3 separate regions of the Homo sapiens genome follow, and all the other regions are linked to region 3. The links are contacts of gene promoters, found by promoter capture Hi-C in blood cells and fetal thymus (Javierre and others, 2016). All regions are on one chromosome and are shown on one strand. The core of a region is centred on a gene start or on the middle of the fragment in contact, and the rest is flanking DNA. Distances in the headings are between cores, read along the strand shown.

Evidence for each region. Contacts are between HindIII fragments. The CHiCAGO score rates a contact against its expected background, and 5 or more counts as called.
Region 1: a contact is called between a fragment that was not itself captured here and the fragment with the promoter of GLTP in region 3, in 2 of 17 cell types (M2 macrophages and neutrophils). The highest score is 7.5, in M2 macrophages.
Region 2: the fragment with the promoter of ATP2A2 here is called in contact with the fragment with the promoter of GLTP in region 3 in 1 of 17 cell types (fetal thymus); the score reaches 6.1 in fetal thymus.

What each region holds. Positions count from the first base shown.
Region 1 is chr12:109,461,677-109,466,136 of GRCh38, reverse strand. All of the region lies in intron 2 of KCTD10 (potassium channel tetramerization domain containing 10), which reads left to right. Among named protein-coding and RNA genes, the nearest start is that of KCTD10, 13 kb to the left of the region's middle. RefSeq lists enhancers at 2,773-3,579, 4,386-4,460. The HindIII fragment of the contact is 4,328 bases long and covers 586-4,460 here.
Region 2 is chr12:110,279,665-110,284,225 of GRCh38, reverse strand. It overlaps ATP2A2 (ATPase sarcoplasmic/endoplasmic reticulum Ca2+ transporting 2), which reads right to left and starts at 2,979. Exons shown (of 20, transcript NM_170665.4): 1 at 2,319-2,979; 2 at 1,605-1,622; 3 at 1,431-1,513. The coding sequence starts at 2,436. RefSeq lists enhancers at 1,530-2,284, 3,402-3,471 and silencers at 2,112-2,621, 2,712-3,311. The HindIII fragment of the contact is 3,608 bases long and covers 2,346-4,561 here.
Region 3 is chr12:109,878,430-109,883,202 of GRCh38, reverse strand. It overlaps GLTP (glycolipid transfer protein), which reads left to right and starts at 2,662. Exons shown (of 5, transcript NM_016433.4): 1 at 2,662-2,931. The coding sequence starts at 2,829. LOC124903012 (a long non-coding RNA gene) reads left to right here and starts at 1,802. Exons shown (of 3, transcript XR_007063455.1): 1 at 1,802-1,842; 2 at 2,029-2,088; 3 at 2,196-2,305. It also overlaps a transcript of TCHP not described here. RefSeq lists an enhancer at 1,579-2,080 and a silencer at 2,405-2,954. The HindIII fragment of the contact is 8,722 bases long and covers 1-4,773 here.

The DNA.
Region 1 (4,460 bases), core at 1,500-3,999, 420 kb after region 3:
AAGACAAGGACACTGTGGCAGTGAGCATGCCCTTTCCAGACTCTTCCCGGAAAGGTTCAGTTCCCACAATGCTAGAATTTTCACCTGACTCCTTGTCAGCATTGCCATTGGTCCACGGATGTAGGTAGCACCTTTCACAATGCATTCTGTTCAGCATTTGCCTGTAGTGGTCTGTTTCATCCCTGTTGCTTCGTACAATACTTCCCCCTATTGTAGGTTTTCTGATGTCTTGCTAATGTATTTTGGAATTAGTGCGTACACTAGATTGAAGAGTCATTCATTTTGTGATCGCACATTCCCCTAGAAAACTGGGAAGTCCAGTCTGATCCATGGGAAAACTGCAGTTCCTGGGGGTTTCCCTGAGATCTCCAGCCCTTCTGCCTTCCATGACAATGCTCTTTGGTAAAATTCTGAAGTACCTGAGAGCTTTTAAATTGTGAATAATACAACAAACTCACCTGTGCCACCAGGCTCAGCCCAGGCATAAAGTATGACCTGTACCTGTGGGGCCCCTTTGTGCCTTCTCTGTTTGTCCCTCTCCCTTCCAAAGGTAAGCATTTGGGGTCACCAGGTGGATCTCAAGCTTGGCTACAGAGGGAGTCACCTGAGGAGGTCAGTACTGGTGCCTGGGTCCCAGCCAGGGTGTGGCCCAGGCAGTAGGACTTTGAAGAGCTCTCTGGGTGATTCTAGTGTGCAACCAGCATTGAGAACCACAAGTGTCCATCTTTCCAGGTATTACTCTTACTATAGCTGTGCATGTCCCTAAACAAGGCGCTGTTGGTGTGTTTTTAAACGTGATGTAAATGGTGCTGTACAGTTTGTATGTTTTGCTTTTGCTTACGTAGCATTATGCTTGTGAGATCAATCCACAACTAAATAGCTCTCGTTCAGACATTTTCCGGTGGTAGAGTGTCCATTCTAGAAGCATACAGCCGCTGCCGGAGCCATATTCTGTTGATGATCATGTAGAGGGTTTGCGGTGTTCACTGTGACGAATGTGAACATCCTTGAACGCTTTCCCCGTGCGTGGGAGTTTCTCTGTGCGATGCTGCCCAGCCTTTGCCACATCATGGGGCACGTAGACAATCATATTTTCACTTTGGCAAATGAGGGGGCTCTGGACTCCCTAGATCCCACCCAGCCATCTCAAGGGCTATGGCTTTAAGATCTTACCCACTGTTGGGAGCTCAGCCCTAGAGTTTATTCCCAGGAGGGGAATTGGGACAGCATCTTCTACTTCCTTAGATATTGCAGGAGTCCCTTCTGGAGTGGTTATGGCAACTTCTACTCCCTGCAGAAGTCTGGATTTTTGCCAACCCTTGGCACTGTCCAACCTTTTAATTATTGCAAATCTGGTGAGTATGATATGGTACCTTGTTTTATTCAGTATTTCCTAATGTCTGGTACGTTGAGCATGTTTTTATGTGTATTGCTCTTTTGAGTTTAATCTTTTAACTGCTTGATTGCATCTTACTTACACATTTGCCTTTTTCTTATTACTTTGCAAAAGTTCATATACTGGATCCTGTTTCTTTGGGGTCCAGTGCTGCAAATATCTTCTCCCAGTCTGACTTGTCTGAGCTTTTTTAATGGGGCTTTTGGAAACCTCAGAGTTTAAATCGCTTTTTTACACTTACATCCTTGATCTACCTCAGTGATGCCCAAACCAATGGGTGATTTTTTGGGATATTTAGCAATGTCCAGAGACATTTTTGTTGTTTCTTGGGGATGATGGTGCTCCTGGCGTCAAGTGAGTAGAGGCCAGGGATGCAACTAAATACCCTACAATGTGCGGGGCAGCCTCTTACAACTAAGAATTATCTGGTCCAAAATGTCAAAGTGCTCAGGTTGGAGACCCTGCCCTAGGGATTCTGATCAGGAATGAGGCAGGTTGCTAGAATCTGAATTTTTCACAAGTACCTTGGGTGGCATTTATGATCAGGGGTGTTTGGGAACCACAAAAATATAGAGTATAAATACCTTAGGATGGCAAAGAGAGGTCAGTGAAGGTTCCCTGGAGGTGGTGGGAGAGGGGAAAGGAGAGGTCAGACATCCAGGGAGAGAGGAAGCACATGGTATGCTCACGGGGCGGGGAGGAGGGGAGCCTAGTGGCCCAATCCTCCTGACCCCCAGAGCAGCCTTCTCCTCCCTTGGGTCCCTGAAAGCAACACCAACTCCATCCTGGGGGCTGGAACTTGCTGCCTCTGGACGCTGCTGCTCTGCTTCCAGCAATAATGATGAAAGATGAGATTGTTAAAGACCCATAGCTGCTTTTGAGTGCTGTTGGTAGACCCAGCATTGTGCTGTGTGCCTTCTGTACGTTCTTTCATCATATTTTTATGTCAACCCTGTGAGATCGTTTGTAGAAGAGAAAACTGCTAGACAGAGGTTAATTGAAGCACCAATGTCATCCAGCAAGAAGGTATCAGAGCTGGGTTTCCAACACTTAACTGCTGTGCTGTGCTGAGGACGTCCTGGAGCCCAAGTCCAGTGCTGCCCAGTGTGGTCCCGGTCAGTTCTGCTCTCCAGCCTTGCCTAATGGGTCTGGGATCCCAGGCTGCCCTGACTTTGGACAGCCTTCCTAAATAGCTCTCGTGCCCCGTGGCAGCAGGAGAGAGACCCCCCACATGCGAGGAGCTGCTTGACTTCCATTTGTCTTTCTACGTGCTAGGCATTTGAGCTGACTTTCAAAGGGATCACTTCCTGCTTTGAAAGCAACCACAGTATCTTAAAGTCAAAACGCTGATTGAAACCTCCTGGAGAGTGTGCCTGGCTCCCTTGCCCTTATTTGTCCAAAGTATGATTCTTTCGCCACAAGCATTTCCTGACGGCATTCTTGAGCCGGAGCCCAGTGTCACGGTCTGCCTGTTCATTTATGGGAACTCTGGGCTGTCATTTGGATAATTGATTTCAGGGCCCTGGGTCTTCCCAAGCAGCTGAGTTCTGCAGACATCAAAGGCAGAACGTGGAAGGTTCCTTCCCTGCGCAGCTGAGTTGAATTCTATTTATCTTTTCAATTCTGGTGAAAGGAGTTTTCCTATGAGTGCCTTACTTTTTCTTTGTGGTCTAGTCCTGCTGCCTCTGCTTGGGAATGGCACTGCACCTCTCTGAGCCTCTGTTTTATTTGTGGAAAATGCAAGGGAATGAGCTCCCCTCAAAAAAGAACTGGTAGAAAGATAATACGGTCTTTCCCTGCCTTGTCAGCCTTCTGAGAAAAAATTACTTGGTGTAGGGTAGCACAGAGGCCTCAAGCTGGTAGCCTGCAGGCCCAGTTCAACTGCAGATGTGTTTTGTTTGCCTTGTGGTGGGTTGATGACAGTTTTGTTTTGTTTTAATTAGTTTACCGTCCTTTAAAAATCAGGGAATTCACAGAAAAATCTGGGTTTCTGGCATTGCATGGAACATCAGAGCTCACAGCTCTTGGGCCCACATTCCTGCCTGGCCACTCTTGGCTGGAGTGGGAAGAGCCTGCCTCTCTTGGGGGCAGGGCAGATGCTGTCCTGTCAGCCCCAGCCTCAGCCCCGCCCAGCTGCACTCATTTATTGTGCTTACTGGCCCTGGAGGCATCTGGGTTGCATAAGATATTAATTCCATATTTTGTTTTCTCAGATGTAGAAAGAAGTGGGGTGGGATCACATTTGCAGGTCACTGTCAGGGTGATGTGATTTACCATGCCTGGGAAGGCCTCTTTCTTCCCTGAAACCAGGAGTTGACTCAGGGCTATACATTTGTATTGCATTTCCCCCCACTTGGGGTATTCTTCCCACCTACTCAGGAAATTGGAACAGTGCGGAAGTAGGAAGTGGAAGCCGCTGGAGGGTGGAGACCGTTCTTTTAACAAAAGGCCCAGGAACTTTAGGCTGAGCTGTTTCATCAGGGGAACCTGGAAACGGCCCTGTTATCAAACTTTCCTGGCAATTCATGCAAAGAATACCAAACTATGCCCTAAAACCATGAGAGGGCACTTGGCAGGGACTGGACCTGCCAGGTAAGGGGTAGGGGAAAGCGGGCAGACTTAAGACTCTGGATTGTGAAAAAGATGCGTTTGCTGCTCTCAACTTTTGCTGGCCTCTGCCACTGATCCAAGGCCCAGGATCAGTAGGGCCCAGTCTGAGGAGGACGTGGAACAGGGCACAGCATTGTTAGGAGTGGAACAGGGCACAGCGTTGTTAGGAGTGGAAATGTTGGCCCTTCTCCCAAAGTGGGGAGGAAGGTGGTAGCATAAAGTGACCGATTCCTACTGAAGCCTTCTCACGGCCCTGCGCACTGGCATTTTCCACCTGTAATGCGTGGCAGGAGCCGTGGGGACGCCCCTTGCCTGAGGTCACCCTGCTTGTCAGAAGGCCTCGACTTCACCCTCTCATCTGTCTGGCTTCTTTTTAGAGCTTCACATTTGCTGTTGGGAGATACTTGGACTTTGCTCCATTCCTGCCTTCCTTTTTGGTACCTCCTCCTCCTAG
Region 2 (4,561 bases), core at 1,730-4,229, 400 kb before region 3:
TCATTTCCCTTAATTGGTAAAACAGCAGCCATTTTCTGGGGGAAAATTTTTTAATCAATCAAGAAGAAACATTTTATCAGAGGTACATTGTGACTGACTCAGAATGCTGAATGGTTTGCTATGTAAGTCCCCATTTTAATCAATGAAAACCACAGAAAAGGTTCTTGGGGACTGAATTATTAATGGCTACACAATACTTGGCTAATATGGCATAATAAAGTATCATAGCAGGATTTATGTAAAAATTATTCCACAAATTTATTTACTGCTGCCACTATCTACTTAAAAGATGGGTATAAATTTAATCTTTTCCTCATCTGAACTAAATAAATGCCCACTGCTTTGTTTATTTCGTTCTCAAAATAGCCCTCTATGGTATGGTTCTCACAAAGACTGAGGCTGATCCCTGGGACCTGCATACATATATGTACAAGAACTGAAACCGTGAAGTTTTGTCAATTTTGTTTTAACTAGAAAGAAGTACTGCACTGGGTGAATTTCACTTATCGTGGTTTTTGTAAGAATAACGTAATTCAAGAATAAAAGGCATCTCATGCTATTAGAATTAGGAACATCTGTGTCCTATTCCTGACCATTTTTAGGAAAACTAGCAAGCAATCTACTGCCCAAGAAAAAAAATGCAACAAAAAATTAATACCGAACATTTAAAAAAAAGTTAAAAACCTAGAAATATACTTGCCACCCCAACACCCTTTTTCTGCTGTAGTTCTTTGCATTTCACTAGTTTCTTAGCAACCATATAGCACTCAAGTGGGTAAGCACACACAGAACAAGAAAAAACACCATGCTGGTTTTTTTCCTTTAAGATCTAGAACCAACTGTACTAAACCTTGTTCTTTCAACCTAAGAATCACTTAAGACAGGGGTCCAATTTAGATAAATATACCACCCTAAAGGTCAGTGACCAAATTTGGTCAACAAGGGTGCCATCACAGCCGTCATCATTCTTGTCACCGTCAGGAACAACTGTCACCTTGCCATTACCAGGAAGGGAAAGCAACTGGAATATTCCTTTTGTAAGTTCTATTTACAGACTACAAAGAGTCCAACATCATCTTAGTATGATCTTACAACACGATAACAATGGAAGAACCCAAAACATTAAAGGCTTCCCAGAAAAGAACTTTTTGATATTAAAAGCTGATAAACCACAAGAATTTCTAAGACCATGCCACACTCTGGGACAACTCCTAACCACACTGTAAATGTCAGGCATCTATTTTCTGAATACCAATGGCTTCAAGTGTTTTGTTTTGTAATTTTAAAATGCCCAGATTGTTTTTAAACATAGAGACACAGCTTGCAACTCCAAATATGTTTTCACCCAATGGACATCATTTGTTTTCTGATTTATCTATGGAATACTTTCAGCTTTTGGGGGGAAAGAAAATAAATTTTTTTATACTTACAAAAGATATACATGCTGCCAGTAATAAAATCCTAACTAGCAAGTCTTCAAACTGCTCAATCACAAGTTCCAGCAAGGTTTTTCCTGTAAGAAACAAACACATGTGTTTTAACTGTCATCTTACCATCAGCACACCAACAGAGGAAAAAAAACAGAAACAGCATGTTAAGATTACCTTCTTCAGCCGGTAACTCTGTAGAATGTAGAAATTCGTCAAGCAATGTGTCAAGAGGGAGGTTAAAAAAAAAAAGAGAGAGACATTTTAGCACTTCGTTTTTCTAAAAAGAACTGCTACAATTCTAAGCATCAATATCTTTAAAACACAGACCTAGCTATAAGAATATCCGATTTTTTTAGCAGAGGGCATACCACGAAGATATCTCAAGGAAGCATGCACTCTTTGTAATCAATGGCCTGAGGTCTAGCCCTAAGCGTGAAATCACTTCGGGCTCCTGAACCTAGGAGTGGTTTCAGCGATGTCATCACTTCTGCCAGATGTGTAACTTTGGGTAGGACAAGAACGGTCAGAGGCCTTCCAACGACCTCGACTCCTCATAAATCGGCAGGGGACGAGAAAACGTCTTGCCGGGCTCAACCTAGCTGCAGAAGCCACGTCCCTCCCTCCACCGGGGCCGGCTGCTGCTGGAGAGAAGCCTCCGAGCCTTGCGCGCCGAAAAGGTCGAGGGCCCGAGAAGCGAAGAGGTCCAGGGAAGGCGAGGCGAGGACCGCAGCCCCTTTCTCTCCCGCGGGGCCGGCGCGCTGGCCCGACCCTCCGCCCGCAGCTGTCGGCGGGCGCGGAGCCGAAGCCCACGAGGTGGAGCCCGGTCAGCCATCTTCCCTGGCTCTCCCGGCCGCGCCGGGCCCCTGCAGCGGAGCGCCCTGCACCTACCGTTGGAGCCCCATCTCTCCTTAAGCTTCTTGACCTGTTCCAGGCTCAGCCCCGTACTCTCGTTGACGCCGAAGTGGCCCAGCACCTCCTCCACCGTCTTGGTGTGCGCGTTCTCCATGGCTTCGGGGGCCCGGCCGGCCTCGCCTCCCGTCCCCGCGGCCTCCTCGCCTCCGCCTCGCACTCCGGCCGCGGGCTCGTGCCACCCCGGGAGCCCAGGCGCGGACGGGCTCTCCCCTCCTCCTCTTGCGGCCGCTTCCGCCTCGCCGGGCGCTGAATCACCCCGCGCCCCCTCCCCCAGACAACCGCCCCTCGCGCGGCCCCGAGCTCCGCAGGGCGGGTTGGGGGCTCCTGACCCACCCTCCCTCCCCTCGCCAGAAGGGAGGGCCTCCCTCGCCCTCAGCCGCCCGCCGGGAGGGCAGGCCGCGGCCCCCGAGCCCCCTCCCCGCTCTCTTGAGGCGATCAGAGGCCCCGCCCGGGCCGGAGGAGGGGGCGCCCGGCAGACCACTGAGGGCGGAACGCGGCGAGGGAGGCGAGCCGGCGGGGCGGTGCGCGGCGCGCTCGCCCGGGTCCCTCAGCGCCGCACGCCCGACAGCGGCGGAGGAAACTGCGGCGAAGGAAAAGGAGGTGGCGTCGGGGACGGCTCCGCGGCGGCTGCTCTAATAGCATTTATCGGCCGCTGCCTCCCCTTTCGCCGCCGCCGCGGCATGTGGACGCCGCTCATTGGCCGAGAGCGCCCAGCGCGGCGCGGGCGGCGCGGCCCCGCCCCCTCCTCCCGGCTCCCTCCTCCCGCGCGCCTGGCGCCCACGCTGCCGCGCAGGCCCCGCCCCCTCCCGCGCGCCGCCCCTAGGAACCCGGATCGAGGCCGCGCGCGCCGCGGTCGCGGGGCTGGCGGAGGGGAAGCTGGGTACCCTCTTCTGTGCCTGCGGTTCTCTGACCCACCCACCTGCAGACGCAGGGTGGGGCGCTCACAGTGGGCACGCTGCTCTGGGGCCGGTGGGCGGATGGTTGGAAGGCGAGGCCGAGGAGCTGGGAGCGCGGTCCACGCGGGGCGTCTCGAGGCGCCCTCGGGCTGATGTCCTTGGCTCGCCTCCTCGCCCTCGGTCGCCCGGGCTGCGCTCTGCATCCTAATCTGGCTCCTTCAGAGCCCCCCTCAGAAACCAAGGGGAGGAATTCCGCAGTTCACTTCCCACACAACCCAAATCCTTCATCTGTCGCCTCGGGAACACCGCATCCTACACCCCCTGCCGCCAGCTCCTTCGCACGCCAGCCCCGATTCTTCCCCAGCGGGTTCTGGGCCCTGACGAGGGAACCCCCCTCGCGGGGGGGAGGGAGAAGAGTTGATTTTATTATTAATAGCTGACGCAGCGCTTGATAGGTGTCTGCAGGGCAGTCACAGTTCACGCCGCTGGAGCTGCCACACAGCAGCTAGACTTGGGCTAGGAGGTGCTTCGCTGTGGCTTTCAGATGAAGGCCATTTCATAGACTCACTTCCCTCGACAGGAGAAAAGGGGACTTGAATCCAAAGCTGCTCTTAAACCACAGATGATTTGCTCTGCTCGGGAGGACAAAGCGCAGGTCACAGCAAGATAAAGGGAATTTTGCCAATATAAAGAAGCTACATTACTTAACAAGGGGATGGGAAATTGCATGGAATTCATGAACAAAACATGAACATATTCTCTTCACAAAGAAGAGCAGCTTTCTTCACGGAGTAGGTTGCAGAATGAAGCAATTAGTCCACTTTTGTGTTTAACAATAACGCACCATCCGCATGAGCAAAAGCAGAGCAGAAAAATCACCTCAGTTGTCTCAAGTGGCTGGGCTTCAGGACTTAAGATAAATTCCTTCAGCAGATGCAAATTACAGTGCATCACCAGCTGAAAAAATCAGGCACGTCATGTCATTTAATTATTTCCAAGGAGTGGACGTTGGCATGTAGTTTTGATTGATACTTGGAAAAGAACCAACAAAACCCTACACGAAACAAACAAACAAAAAATTATACTATATGGCAACGCACTGAGAGAAGCCAGGTGGAAACTGGTTAGGTCACAGGATCAGAGCCGCTTCAAGAGGGGCACGTGAGTGCACGGTGGGAGTGTGGTCATGGAGGGCTGGCTGTTGTTGCCCTCTGAGACCAGCTCTGCACCATTTCGTACCAATTCTTCTCCCTTACCTCCTCTGTCTCTTTCAGGACCGATAGAAGCACTGCAGGCAGGAGAAGGATGGTTTACCTTTCTCAG
Region 3 (4,773 bases), core at 1,413-3,912:
AAATAGGGTAGCATGTTGGCATGTTCCTGTAGTCCCAGGTACTTGAGAGACTGAGGCGGGAGAATCCCTTGAGCCCAGAAGGTTGAGGCTGCAGGGAGCTGTGATCACACCACTCTAGCCTTGGCTACAGAGTGAGATCCTGTCTCTCAAAAAAAAAAAAAGAAAAAAAAAAGAAAACATTCTATAAGATTCAGCAGAAATGCACTAGTGATTTCTTATTGCCTTTAACATGAAATCCAAACTCTTGGCCAGGCGCGGTGGTTCACACCTGTAATCCCAGCACTTTGGGAGGCTGAGGCGGGCGGATCACAAGGTCAGGAGTTTGAGACCAGCCTGGCCAACATGGTGAAACCCCATCTCTACTAAAAATACAAAAAAATTAGCCAGGCGTGGTGGCAAATGCCTGTAATCCCAGCTACTTGGGAGGCTGAGGCAGAGAATTGCCTGAACCCGGGAGGCGGAGGTTGCAGTGAGCCGAGATTGCACCACCACTGTACTCCAGCCTGGGCGACAGAGTGAGACTCCATCTCAAAAAAAAAAAAAAAAAAAAAAAAATCCAAACTCTTCACCACTCCCTTCCTGCCCCAATATACTCCAGCCTCTGCCCACCTCCCTGACCTCAACTCCTATCACCCTACTCACTCTTGCCCTCACTTACCCATTCCCATTTCCTCCCCTGGCCCCCCGATTCCTTGCACCACACTAAGCTCTTTGTTACCTTAAGGCTTTTGCTCATGTGCCTCACACCCCAAGTCTTTTTTTTTTTTTTTTTTTAGACGGAGTCTCGCTCGCTCTGGCTGGAGTGCAATGGCACGGTCTTGGCTCACTGCAACCTCCACCTCCCTGGTTCAAGCAATTCTCCCTGCCTCAGCCTCCTGAGTAGCTGGGATTACAGGCTCCTGCCACCACACCCAGCTAACTTTTGTATTTGTTAGTAGAGATGGGGTTTCACCATGTTGGCCAGACTCACACCCCAAGTCTTTGACCTGGCTCTATCCTACTTCTCCTCTAGGTCTCAGCTCAAATATCACCTCTTCAGAGGTACTGCTCCCAAACCCCTACATCCGATCTCAGCCAACAGGCTTCAGTCATCCTCCGTCACTACACTGTTTTATTTTCTTCACATACTCATCAGTGTCTGAAGTTGTCTTACCAATTTGTGTATTGCATTGTGTTGTGTTCCCAACCAGATTGTCAGCTCCACAAGGGCAGGGATTTTGCTGTATCATTCACTTTATCCTCAGTGCCCAGTGCAGTGCATGACACATAGTGGTGGAGGGTGGGGGAGGGGTGGGAAGGATGGCAAATGTTTATTCTGGAATGAATAAGAGGCTCTCAACAATGGTGTGTTAGATTTTTGCATAAGCTGGGCATTGGGTTTAGGACATAAGCATCTAGGTGGGTTGTGGCTGAGATGACTTGTGATTCAAGGTGTGAGAAGCTGGACCCTGGGCTGTTGGAGAGACATTAGGTTTGGGAAACAAGTGTCCAGGTTGTGGGTGAATTGGTATAAACTGGGCTGGCTCCAGCTGTTACCAGTAGAAGGTGTCCAGGTACTTGGCATCTTGGAGAAAACACACAAACGAAGCAAGGAAAGCAAAAGCAAGGATTTACTGAGAACGAAAAGTCCACCCCACAGTTTGGGAGCAGGCTTGAGCGTAGAGGCTCAAGAGCTCTGCTTACAGAATTTTCTAGGGTCTCAATACTCTAGAGGTTTCCCATTGGTTACTTGGTGAATATTCTATGTAAATGAAGAGAATGAAGTGAAGTCACAGAGTCATTTACTCAGAATGTGCCCTATTGCAAATGGAGAGGATGTGCAAATGGAGAGGATGTTACTTGGTGGGAGAGGATGAATGTGAAGTTACAAAGTATAAATGGAGAGGATGTTTCTTGGAGTGTGTGGTCTGTGTAAATGGAGAGGATGAATGTGAAGTTACAAAGTGTAAAGGGCGTGAATGGAGAGGATGAAGTGAAGTTGCAAAGCCGTTTACATTCCTGTCATTGCTAAGGTGCTTTTTGATTTAGGTCTAGGAAGTCAGCCTTATGTTCCCTGCCTCCAGGCCCTATTTTTCTGCCTCACAACAGGTAACATCAGACTGTTGAGGGCAGACTGGACCCCAGATTTCGGGAAGCAGGAGTTGTCCAGCAGGGCAGTGGCTGAGTTAGACTGTGACTTCAGCAGTGTTCAACAGGTATAAGGTCATTGAAGACCAAGAATCAAGCAATCGAGCGTCCTCGTCGGTTGTAGCGAAAGAGAACCGTGACCAACAGGAGAGCAGTGTCCACCCAGGTCACTTGGGGTTACTGGGGTACAATTTTGGGGGAAACGGGGGTCCTGGGGAGCGTTGGCTGGGTGGGGCTGTAACCCGAGCTGGTGGGCGGGTTGTGAGCTGTGACCTGGCCCGAGTCGGCCCGCCCGGATTGGGGGGCCAAACCGGGGGCGGCGGGAGGCACACCTGGGGAAGACTCACCTGGGAGCGGCTCACTTGGGCCCTCCGGGACCCATGAACCGGCGCACCTCCTCTGCGTCCCGCCCCCGGCCGGCCCCCCGGCCAATGGGGGCGCGGAGACCTCGGCGGCGGGCGCGGATTGGGAGCCGGTGAGCGGGGGCGGGGCGGCGCGCCCGGCAGTTTAGGCGCTCGGCCGGCGGGCGGCGCTGAGCGCTCGGCTACGAGGGCGCCGTGCGGGCGGAAGTGGCGACGCTGGCGTCCCCGGAGCCTGCGGCGGGCGGCTGTGACGGCCCCGGCGCTGACGGCGGCGGCCGGGGGGGCGGTGTCGACGCCCGCGGCGCCGGCTGGGGCATCACCGCGGGCCTCGACCCCGAAATGGCGCTGCTGGCCGAACACTTGCTGAAGCCGCTGCCCGCGGACAAGCAGATCGAGACCGGGCCCTTCCTCGAGGCGGTGTCCCACCTGCCGCCCTTCTTCGGTGAGCCGGAATGGAGGGGGGAGGCGGCCCGCAGCCCCACGCGCACCCGAATCCTCCTTCCCCCGAGCATCCCCTAACCATCTCTGCCCTAGACACCCCTAAGTACTGTTTCCCCAGGCACCCAAGATCCTCTTTCCCTCCACTCACCCTAAATTCTCCCTTTCCCGGACCACTCCCAAGTCCTCTCCGCTCTAAACATGTCACATCCTGCCTGTCCTCCCCAAATCCTCCCTCTCCCTAGACACCTCACAGTCCTACATATCCCCCAAATGCCCCCTGATCATCCGTGCCCCCAACACGGATGATCTTCCATCTCCCTTAGGCATTCTGTAATCCACCATCTCCCCCAAAGCCTCCTGCCCCTTCTTCCCCAAAGTCCTTCATCCCTGGCGCTTTCTGATGGCTCTCAACTCGCTCCCCTTACAATGAATCCCCCCATTTCATAAGCCTTCTCTTTGAACGCTTCCAGCCTCTCCCTCATGGGACCTACAAACCCTTCCTTCTTCCCTCAGAATTCGCCCATTCCAGATCAAAGACTCCCATCTCCCCCTCCAAGGGTAGGAAGCCTGGTGAGGCGGGGACAAGGAGAGGGTTTTGAAGATGGAGTTGCAAAATTCCAGGGCCTCTTTCTAGGGGAAACCACCTAAAGTTTTTCCTCCTTTTAGGACAGGGGTGAGGGTTGTCGGGGGAGCTGTTTTGTGAGGTGACATCAGACATACAGAGCTTGGCACCAATTCCTCCCTCAGTTTGGGCTCTACGAGAGGAAGCCCCTCCCCTGTATGTCGTGTGGAAGTTCCTGGGCGCATTGGGAAGGCGGTCCACTTTCAGACCCTCTTCCCGCACTCCCTCAGCCTAGCCCAGTCCAGCCAAGGCCCCAGATGGAAAATGGGAACTAGAAGCCAGCACCACTGCCCCTGCCCTTTGCCTTTTGGGTCCCGGGTAAAGGGTGCAACCTGAGCCTCTATTCTCCTTCTCCATGTGGGCTCTGTCCTGTCCTGCTGGTTCACTTGGTGGCCTTGCAGGAAAATACCAGCCCCCAGGGCAGAGTCCACCTGAAACCCAAAGACAGGAGATCTTAAGACAGTCCGACTTAGTGGGCAAAGAAGGCTTGTTAGGGGTGGTAGTTCCCACAGTGTCCTGAGCTCTGGGATGGTTGTGGTTACCTGGAGGCTATAGTTCCCCTCCTTCACCTCGTGAGCCTCAGTGTCCCCAGCTGTGAAACGGGGATGCTGATCTCCTAGGGCAGCTGTGAGGAGTCGATGAGGTGGTGTGTGTAAAGTACCGAGGCCGTAAGTGCCAAATAGGTCTTCGCTGTAGGGGGTGTGGTTTTAAGTTCCTGAATCCAGTTTTGGTTCCTTGCTAGAGTGATTAATCGGTGTTTGAGGGAGTGCAATTGTCTGGTGTGTATGATTCCCAGACCTGGGTAAGCAACCTGAGAGCAAGGGCTTGGTTTTTTACATCCACTCTGTGTCCTCAGTGCCCAGAACAGTGCCTGGCACATAGCAGATGCTCAGTCAATACTGCTGAATGCACAAAACTTTCTTATTATCAGTGTCACAGTCTTGAGATAATACTGACTCTCCAGGTGGGGGCTTGGGAGCGAACCAGCTCTAGCATTGAAAAGTTGTTTAATTTTGTGATGTTGTTGGTTGTTGTTGTTTTTTTTTTGCTTGCTTGTTTCCTCTTTGGTTGCAGGAATAGTTCCAAGTCAGAGCCAGCTTGCCCTGGACAGGGATTCAGAATCCATTTAAGCCAGTGGTTCTCAACTGAGGGCAGTTTTGCCCCTTAGGGTACATCTGACAATGCCTGGAGGCATTTTTGTTGCAACTGAGTTGGGGGATG